3 separate regions of the Homo sapiens genome follow, and regions 1 and 3 are each linked to region 2. Evidence: promoter capture Hi-C in 16 types of primary human blood cells and fetal thymus (Javierre and others, 2016). All regions are on one chromosome and are shown on one strand. The core of a region is centred on a gene start or on the middle of the fragment in contact, and the rest is flanking DNA. Distances in the headings are between cores, read along the strand shown. Region 1 has its middle 33 kb from the start of NAPG. Region 2 holds the start of VAPA (VAMP associated protein A). Region 3 has its middle 31 kb from the start of NAPG.

The links. The method cuts DNA at HindIII sites, captures the fragments that hold promoters and counts their contacts. A CHiCAGO score of 5 or more calls a contact.
Region 1: a fragment that was not itself captured here is called in contact with the fragment with the promoter of VAPA in region 2 in 1 of 17 cell types (fetal thymus); the score reaches 5.8 in fetal thymus.
Region 3: a fragment that was not itself captured here is called in contact with the fragment with the promoter of VAPA in region 2 in 1 of 17 cell types (total B cells); the score reaches 7.5 in total B cells.

Annotation. Positions count from the first base shown.
Region 1 is chr18:10,557,678-10,560,433 of GRCh38, reverse strand. No RefSeq gene overlaps it. Among named protein-coding and RNA genes, the nearest start is that of NAPG, 33 kb to the right of the region's middle. RefSeq lists enhancers at 1-20, 373-432. The HindIII fragment of the contact is 3,185 bases long and covers 1-2,756 here.
Region 2 is chr18:9,912,695-9,915,394 of GRCh38, reverse strand. VAPA (VAMP associated protein A) reads right to left here and starts at 1,379. Exons shown (of 6, transcript NM_194434.3): 1 at 1,060-1,379. The coding sequence starts at 1,138. LOC124904245 (a long non-coding RNA gene) reads left to right here and starts at 1,447. Exons shown (of 2, transcript XR_007066284.1): 1 at 1,447-1,683; 2 at 2,062-2,462. RefSeq lists an enhancer at 260-877 and silencers at 395-1,184, 1,395-1,444. The HindIII fragment of the contact is 3,402 bases long and covers 1-2,700 here.
Region 3 is chr18:10,493,903-10,496,676 of GRCh38, reverse strand. No RefSeq gene overlaps it. Among named protein-coding and RNA genes, the nearest start is that of NAPG, 31 kb to the left of the region's middle. The HindIII fragment of the contact is 3,484 bases long and covers 1-2,774 here.

The DNA.
Region 1 (2,756 bases), core at 127-2,626, 650 kb before region 2:
AGGGCCTCACCGCCCCGAGAGCTCACCAGGCACAAGCACCTCCCAGGGGACGCCCCGGCTAAGCTCCCTCCCAGGAAAGCCCCCTCAAGGCTTCGGGACAGACCTAACTGGGTTCCACCATCTTCCCTCCCTCCCTGCCCGTTTCTCACGTGGGCTGCTGGCTTCCCTCCATCTCACCTTCCCTCACTCTCTGTTTCCCTTCTGTTCTGTGATCTACTCATGTCGCACCCCTTGTGGCTGCTTCTCCACAGACTTGCAATGTGCCCTCTCTGCCCTGTTTCCTTCATTCCGTCTGTAAGCAGGGGGCTCATGGCTGCTGCTGGACACACAGCCTAGGCTGGGGAGGGGCAGGGTGAGGGGGCATTTCAAGAGGGCAACATGGACAGCCTGTGGCGTCGTCACCAAGCCAAACATGCCCTGTACTTTAGAGAGCAAGGGCTGAACAAGGAAGCCTGTGGACACAGGCACGCCAGGTCACAGCTGCTCAGAGGCGAGTCAGAGATGTCTGGATGAACTTGGGCTCTAACTTCAGCAGCCTTTCCTATGCACTCTTATGGGGTCTCAGGGTTTGCTACTGCAGCCTGAGAACATCCTGGGCTTCCTTAAGCCTCCCCCTGCTCCCCACAATGGTGTCCTCCCCTCACTCCCAGGGGGAATCTCTGAGCTTAATAATTCAAGCACGCTCAACTGTGACAAGGGACCCGTGTCAGCATAGGAAATGTTATCTGCCTCTGTTGATTCCTCAGTAAAGAACCTCAAAGGCCTCAGCAAATGACTGCGTGGCCTGTGAGAACCCTTGCCACCCTCCCAGGGTGGACCTTGGATCTAAGATCCTCACAGCCCATGGCAAACTCCTCCAGGATGGAATAAAAGCCAGGGTCAGGGGTGCAAGGGGCTCCCAGGTGCACATCTAGACATGAAAGCTGCATGCCAGAGGGGGCCATTCATGCCTCACCTGAAGCCCCTGACACCTGGCTTCCACATGCTGAAGTCTGGCTCAGACACCTTGTGCTGGAGTCCCGGTAGCTCCACAGGCAGGTGGCCAGTGCAAATGTACAAGGCCCACACTCTGAAGGCCCTGCACGTGGGGATGTCTTGAAGTTCTCAACAACTATCTTAGAATTTATGTTTTGTAAGCTAAGTCTGATGGGACAGTGGAGGCTGCATCCTCCTGCAGGGTCCATCCAATAATGGGCCATTGGCAGCCCACTCCCCGACCCTGCCCAGAAAGTGCAGCTGCACTCCCCATCAGAGATGGGCACAGGGAGGGTTGGGCTGGATGCACACCTTGTGCCACGTCACAAGGCATGGGTCCACACACCCACGCAGGTCTGTTCCTGAAGCAAGACATGGAATAGCAAACGAAAAACACCATGGCAGGTCAACAGAGTGACTGCAGAGGGAGGTCTCTGCATTTCCTGCATGTTCATTTTGCACTGGGCCCTGCAAATCATGTAGCCAGCCTGGCTGTAGAGCACCCCCTAACTCCAGGGTCACTGCCGGCTGGAGTCACCCGGACCAGGATGGATTACCAGCAGCTTCTGGAAACTTTTGGCACCCCTACCATTCTAGCTCACTTGGGGAACATGTACGTGCATGTCCTGGACCAGGTGGCTGTGCAGCTCAGAGATGTCAGGGAACTCCCTCCAGATGCCTGGGCCACGCTGATTTCCACTTGTCAAGTAACTTCTGTCATCCTGTCCCTATTCTCACTGGAATTTCTGGTGACCATCAGAGCAATCTGTGCCTGTGAATTTTCTGTCTCTCCTGTAGCTGTCTACAAGGCACATGGAGGAGGTAAGGAGCTGAGAGGATGGGGACAGAGCCAGGGTCTGGTGGCCAGTGAGTCCCTGTGGGCCAGAGGTCACAGCTTGCCACTCTGTCCATATGGAGACTCTCAGCCCATGCTCACCGCAAGAACAAGGACTGAGGTGTGAGGAGCCTCATGTGTCTCAGTGGGACTATGCTAACACCTTTGCCCCACTCACTTCCTCTTCTTGTACTGTCCACTCTCTTCTCTGATAATAGGGATACATTAACTCACTCTTTTTGTCAAGAGAATCAATCAGTTAGGATCATAGCATTACATTATTTAAGATGATGCTCAGCTCTGAAAATAGGAATGGTGGTGGGGGCGCACTCAGTCCTTCAGTACTAACAAGTGCTCTTTCATCATAAACCAAAACTTTGTTGGTGTCACTTCTAATTTCATCCTATCATTTAGGTCAATGATAGAAACATACAAGCACTCAGAAAAAAAGGCCAGGTGCTTGGAAAATTCTGGTCTTTCTCCTGTATAGATCCTGGAAGAGAGGCATTCGGGCTGGCTAGGGGATTTGCTTCCCATTCTGGAGAATGAAGCCTCCAGAGACATGAACAAGAGAATGAGATGTTCCAAATAGGTTTGTTCTCAATTATCTATGACCAAAAGCATCCCAAAGACTGACAGGGTCACAATGCTAGGGCGCAAGACCGTCCTTCACTTATGGGCCTGAATCATAGGTGCAATGGTGGTTTTGTGGTCCTTCAGCTAAGGACACTTGACTTTGTTATTGCAGAACTAAGCACATATCATTGTTTTATTTAGGACTGAACCTAAATCACACTTAAAAAATGAAACATGAGTTCAATTTTTAACACAACCCTTTCAAAGATAGGATCCAACAAGCAGTCTATGTGATAAGCCACTGAAGTGCTGACTGTCCCCGTCAAGGTCTTCGGTGCAAATCATGTAAGGTGTAGATTGTTCCACTTCT
Region 2 (2,700 bases), core at 130-2,629:
TGACAAGGAAACCGACCAAAAGCCCCTGGGATTCTTCCAGGATCACCAAGTCAGACTAAAAAACTTATCACAGGCAGTACTACAAAAACCTACAAAGTTCCAGAGCTGGGTGACACCTTATCAGCCTTCTCAGGATCTGTCGGAAACCGCAAACGTAAAAGCAAAAAAGTCACACGCACTGAAGGTTTCTCAGCAGAGGAGCTCAACTAAAGGGCTAAATAAAAGCACGCGGGTGGCACACTGAAATGTCGTAGAAGGCAGGAAGCCCCGCTACTATGAACCTACAACTCTCCGTTTGCGGCTGACGCATCGCTCCTGCCCGCACGCACCTGGGTCCGTGCCAACAGCACCGGGCAGCCCTCGCCAGGCACCTCCAAGGACTCTCCACCTCCCCGGCGCGTCCTACACCTGACGGCCGAGTTCTAAACCTGGCGGAAAGGTGACAAGCGACGCCCTCCGCGGAACCCGAGGGCCGGCTGCAGCGAGCTCTCCCCGGGCCGGGGCAGGGGTCGGGGGGCGGCTCTCACTCCCAAGGGGTCCCGCGCCGTGCCCTAGCCTCCCCGCGCCGCTGACAGCCGGGAGCGGGCGACAGACGCAGCTTGCGCCACCTCCAGAGCCCACTCCCCGCCGCAGCCCAGAGCGCACGCCCTCGGGTGCCCAGCCGCCCACGCCCCGCCGAAGCACGCCGTCGGCCTCTGGGGCCAAGGACGCGGGCCCAGGCGGACCGCGGCGCGGGCGGGACCGGACGCCCAGGAGGCGCCCCCGCGGGACCGCAAGATGGCGGCGGCGGCGGCGCCAGGGCCGGGCTCCCCTCCGCCTCGCCCCGGCCGGCGCGCGCACCGCAGCGAGGGCGGGCGGGAGGGGATGAAGCGGGCCGGAGCAAGGGGCAGGCCGGCCGAGGTGGCGGCAAGAAAGCAGCCGGGAAAGGGAAGGCGCCGGGGCGTGGGGGAGGGGGCGCTCCCTCGGGCCAGGGCCGCGGACGTGCCCTCCGCGCCCCCCCGCCGACAGCCAGCGGTCCGCGCGCCCCACCCCACCCGGGGGTGTCCCCGTTCTGCCTACCTTTGAATTTGAGGTCTGTGGGCGGATCGAGGACCAGGATCTGCTCGTGCTTCGCCATGGCCCCTGAGGCGGACGCCATCGGAGAGACAGCGCAGAGCGGGGGCGCGCCCGCGGCGGCGGTTTGCTGACTGGGGGCGGGGGACGACGGCGGCGACGGCTCGGCCGAGCTCTAGGACGAGGCCAGGCTCGCGGCTCCCGAGCCCTAACGCCTGCCGCTGTGTCACCGGTTCGGTGGGCCACCCGCTGGGTCAGCAGCTCCGGGTCCCACAACTGACTCAACCCCACACCAGCCGCCACGGCCACGCGCACTTGCGAGCCTCGGCGACCCACGTGACGGCCTCTGCGTGCCTACGTGCGCGCCCCCGGCCGGGAGCTTCTAGCGCTTGTCCCGCCCTCCAGGCCGGCCTAGCGCGGCGCGGGGCTGCTGCGCCTGCGCGCTCGCGGCTTGCCGCGGCCCGGAGCGCAGCCCAGCTGTCAAGGGAACGGGTGTGGAAGGAGGCGGGGCAAAGGTCCGCGGGACCGACGCGATGCGCAGCGCAGGGCTGGAAGCGCAGTCCTCTGTCACCTTGAGCTCCGAGTACGGAACTAGAGAAACTGCTCTGGCAGCGCATCACACTCTTCCAAGTGGGAATGCCCAGTGGAAGGGACAAGTAGTAGTAGGGAAGCGCCCACTCACTACAACTCCCGGCATGCCCCCTGCGGGGCGGGGCCTTCGCCGAGGGCCTGGCCCTTTGCGGCCCTGCGCGGTGCTTGCTGGGAACTGTAGTAACGGCTGTTTGAGGGTGGAAAGGAGAGCTAGGTCTGTTGGAGGCAATGGGGTGGGGTTCGCGGACGCTAATTTTGGCTCTCAGAGCGCGTCTAGTTTGCGCTAAAAAAGAAAAAACTTGAAGACTGAAACGAGGCCCCAATGTTAGAAATATATTAATAAAATCTGCCCTGTGGAGAACAGGCGTGGGGGGATGTGTCCGTTTGCTCTAATTCTATCCAGTCCTCTGTTGGCAGGGCTGCATTCCCCGTGGTATCCAATTCAGCCTCTCCTGCTTCCTGAGTTCTCTCCAGTGATGCAAAATCAGATAAGGAAACACACCTCGTCTAGGAAGCAAGGGGAAATATGACAAAGCACACAGAAACTAGAAATAAAAGTCAAAAATCTACACCATCGAACCCAAATAATCTTCTTCAGTTTTAATGATGGACCCAAACCAAAACAGTTCTCACGTTCACATGTTAGAAACTAACTCCATCTGCATCACTTACGATAGGCTGTAGTAAACTGAACCAAATAAGAAAAATCCCAGCAGCAAACTTGCTGACAAAACTTTAGCCGATTGCCAGGGTAGTCCGGTACAGGAACGTCAAATGAAACCAATGTGCTGTAAATAAACCTTTATTGTATTTTGTGATACGGTTTGAATTTAAATCCCTAGGTAGCGCCACGAAACAAAAGACATATTGATGCTACTGCCATGGAGCAGCACAGTTTGTCTAGAAAATAAACGAGACGAAACAGCAGTCTAGAAGTAGGCACCAAATCCAAGTTTTCATGTGCGATCCAGGTATTAGGGTCCATCCAGGAACAGCCTGCTGGAATTGCTAGCCTGGCATTCACAGAAGATTGTGCCACCCACGAGGAATGTGTTT
Region 3 (2,774 bases), core at 82-2,581, 580 kb before region 2:
TTGTAATATATTTTGAAATCAGAAAAAAAAATGATGCCTCTAGATTTGTTCTTCTTTTTCAATATGTTTTGGCTATTTGGGTTTTTTTCATATAAATTTTAGGTTTGCTTTTTTCTACTTGTGTAAAAACTGTGATTGGGATATTGATAGGGATTGAATTGAATCTGTAGATCACTTTGGGTAGTATGGACATTGTAACAATATTATGCCTTGCATTCCATGAGTAAGTAATGTCTTTCTATTTAGTTGTGTCTTTTTTCCTTCATTAATGTTTTGTAGTTTTCATTGTATAAGTCTTTCATCCTTAGTTAAGTTTATTCCTAGAATAAAAAGCCAACCTACAGAAGGGGAGAAAATATTTTCAAGCCATATATCTGATATGCAGATATATAAGAAATTCCTAAAACTCAATAGCAAAAAATCCTAATAACCCAATTAAAAAGTGGGTAAAATACTTGAATAAACATTTCTCTAAAGAAGACATGCAAATGGCCAACAAGAATATGAAAAGATGCCAACATTACTAATCATCAGGGAAATCCAAATCAAAACCACAATGAGATATTACCTCACATCTGCTAAAACGGCCATTATTTTAAAAAAAGATAGCAAGTGCTGGAAAAAATGTGAGGAAATTGGAGCTCCTGTGCAAGACTGGAAGAAACATAAAATGGTGCGGCCACTATAAAAAACAGTATGGAGGTCCCTCAAAAAATTAAAAATAGAACTATCATATTATCCAGAAATCCCACTACTGGGTATATATGCAGAAAAACTGAAATCAGATCTTGAAGAGATATTTGCACTCCCCCTTTCATTGCAGTATTCAATGTGTAAGATATGAAATCAACGGAATTGTCCATCAGTGGATGAATGGATAAAGAAAATGTGATCTACGCACACAATGCAATATTTTTCAGCCCTAAAAAAGAGAAAATCTTGTGTATGTGACAACATGGACGAACCTGGAGGACATTATGTTAGGTGAAATAAGCCAGTCACAGAAGTACAAATACTGTGTTTTTCACTTATATGAGGAATCCAAAATAGCCAAACTCATAGAAATAGTGAAATGGCGGCTTCCAGGGGCTGGGGTGGAGGTACTGTTCAAAGGGTATAAAGTTTTGTTACACAAGATGAGTAGGTTCGAGATCTGCTGTACAGCATGGTGCCTATAATTAACAACATTGTCTTGTGCACTTAAAAATCTATTAAAAGGGTAGATCTCATGTGAAGTGTTCTTACTACAATAAAAAAGATGTCTTTTTAAAAAACACACTAAATGTCTTGTCATTGAACTTTTCACATTGAAAATAAGAGTATTGATTAGTTCAAAGTCATAGTGACGCTATATATCATTTTTGGGAAGATTAATAAAAAATGGAGACACATAGAAAATAGCTTGGGGTAAAAATATGAAATTTAATCTGAATTATCAGATATATAGTCTGCCACTAGAATAGAGAGTGAAGTTTATATAATGTGGAAAATATTTTTCATCAAACTTGTCCATGTGGAACCTGGGCAGTTCAGCTTGTTGTGTGGCATCACCTCTTCTCTACTGTCCATTCCTCTTGCCCAGTAGCTGACCTGCCTACACGTTAACAGGGTTTGTAAGTGCAGGAGAGGTGACTTTGGGTGGAGACATGCACCAGAAGATTGCGTTTGCTGAAGAAGTATTTTACTACTTATGAAATGAAACACATCCTCAGAAAGGCTGGCACCAAATTTGAAGCAGGAAGTCCTCATCTGAAAAAAGTGATTCTAGCTTATATTCACTTGTTCCCTCTAATAAAATCAGATATTCTACAAAGAGAGAAAATCAAACTCAAGAGTCCCTCATCAAAAGGGAAAAATGAAGATTATTTACAAAAGTAGAGACCACAAATTTAGAAAAATCAACTAAAGCTAGTGCAGTTCTCTAGGGCCAGCAACAGTGGGAACCAATATATCCAAGACCTGAAGGGGCAAAGGAGGAAGTGGCTGCTGGTAACCTAGACATGGAGGTCTTGTGGAGAGAGCCATGTGATGGGAGTAGGCACCTCTACCCTCTCCTCCTGCCAGGGATCACCCACCTACACCCTGTTAGCTGAATCCAGTTAGAAGGCAGAAGGCAAGGGAGCCGCTGCTATAGTCAGTGTGGGGAAGGAGGATGGGAGGGGGTGGAGAGGAAAACTGGAGGGACCGGTAGGAAATATCTTCATAACTTACTATGGAGAGCATCACCTGGATTTTCCTCAGAGCCTATTCTGCTGAGCTTGGCCTCCCTTCCTGAGTACTTCATCCTCAAAGTGTCGGCAAGCCTGCATATTTGAAGTGACCAGACCATGGCCCAACTCACAGCACTGCCTTGCAGATGGAAGCAATGGCTGGATGTTTGACTTGGGTGCAAACACTGGGAGAAGTTACGGAGGGTTTGAGTAAGTGATGACTAGGCAACAGATACTTTATTAACCATTTGCAAATGTGGCTTCACGCAGAAGGTAGGATAGGCCAGGGCCAATATGAGAGTAGTGTGCTAGAACAATTCACTAAAGTATACCGGTGGCCCAGAAGAGTGTGGACATGTAAGGGTACACACTTCTGCCCAGAGGATCCCTCACGTAACTGTGTGTCCACAACACACAGTTATGTGAGGAGCTTCATTAAGGACATTAGATATTTCTCCAGCTTCACCTGAGATGTTCAAATATTTGTCACTTGAAATGGAAAATCAAGTGTGTGCGTGAGTGTGCAGGAGCTCGCCTTGAAGGCACCTTCCCTCACTGGCCTGG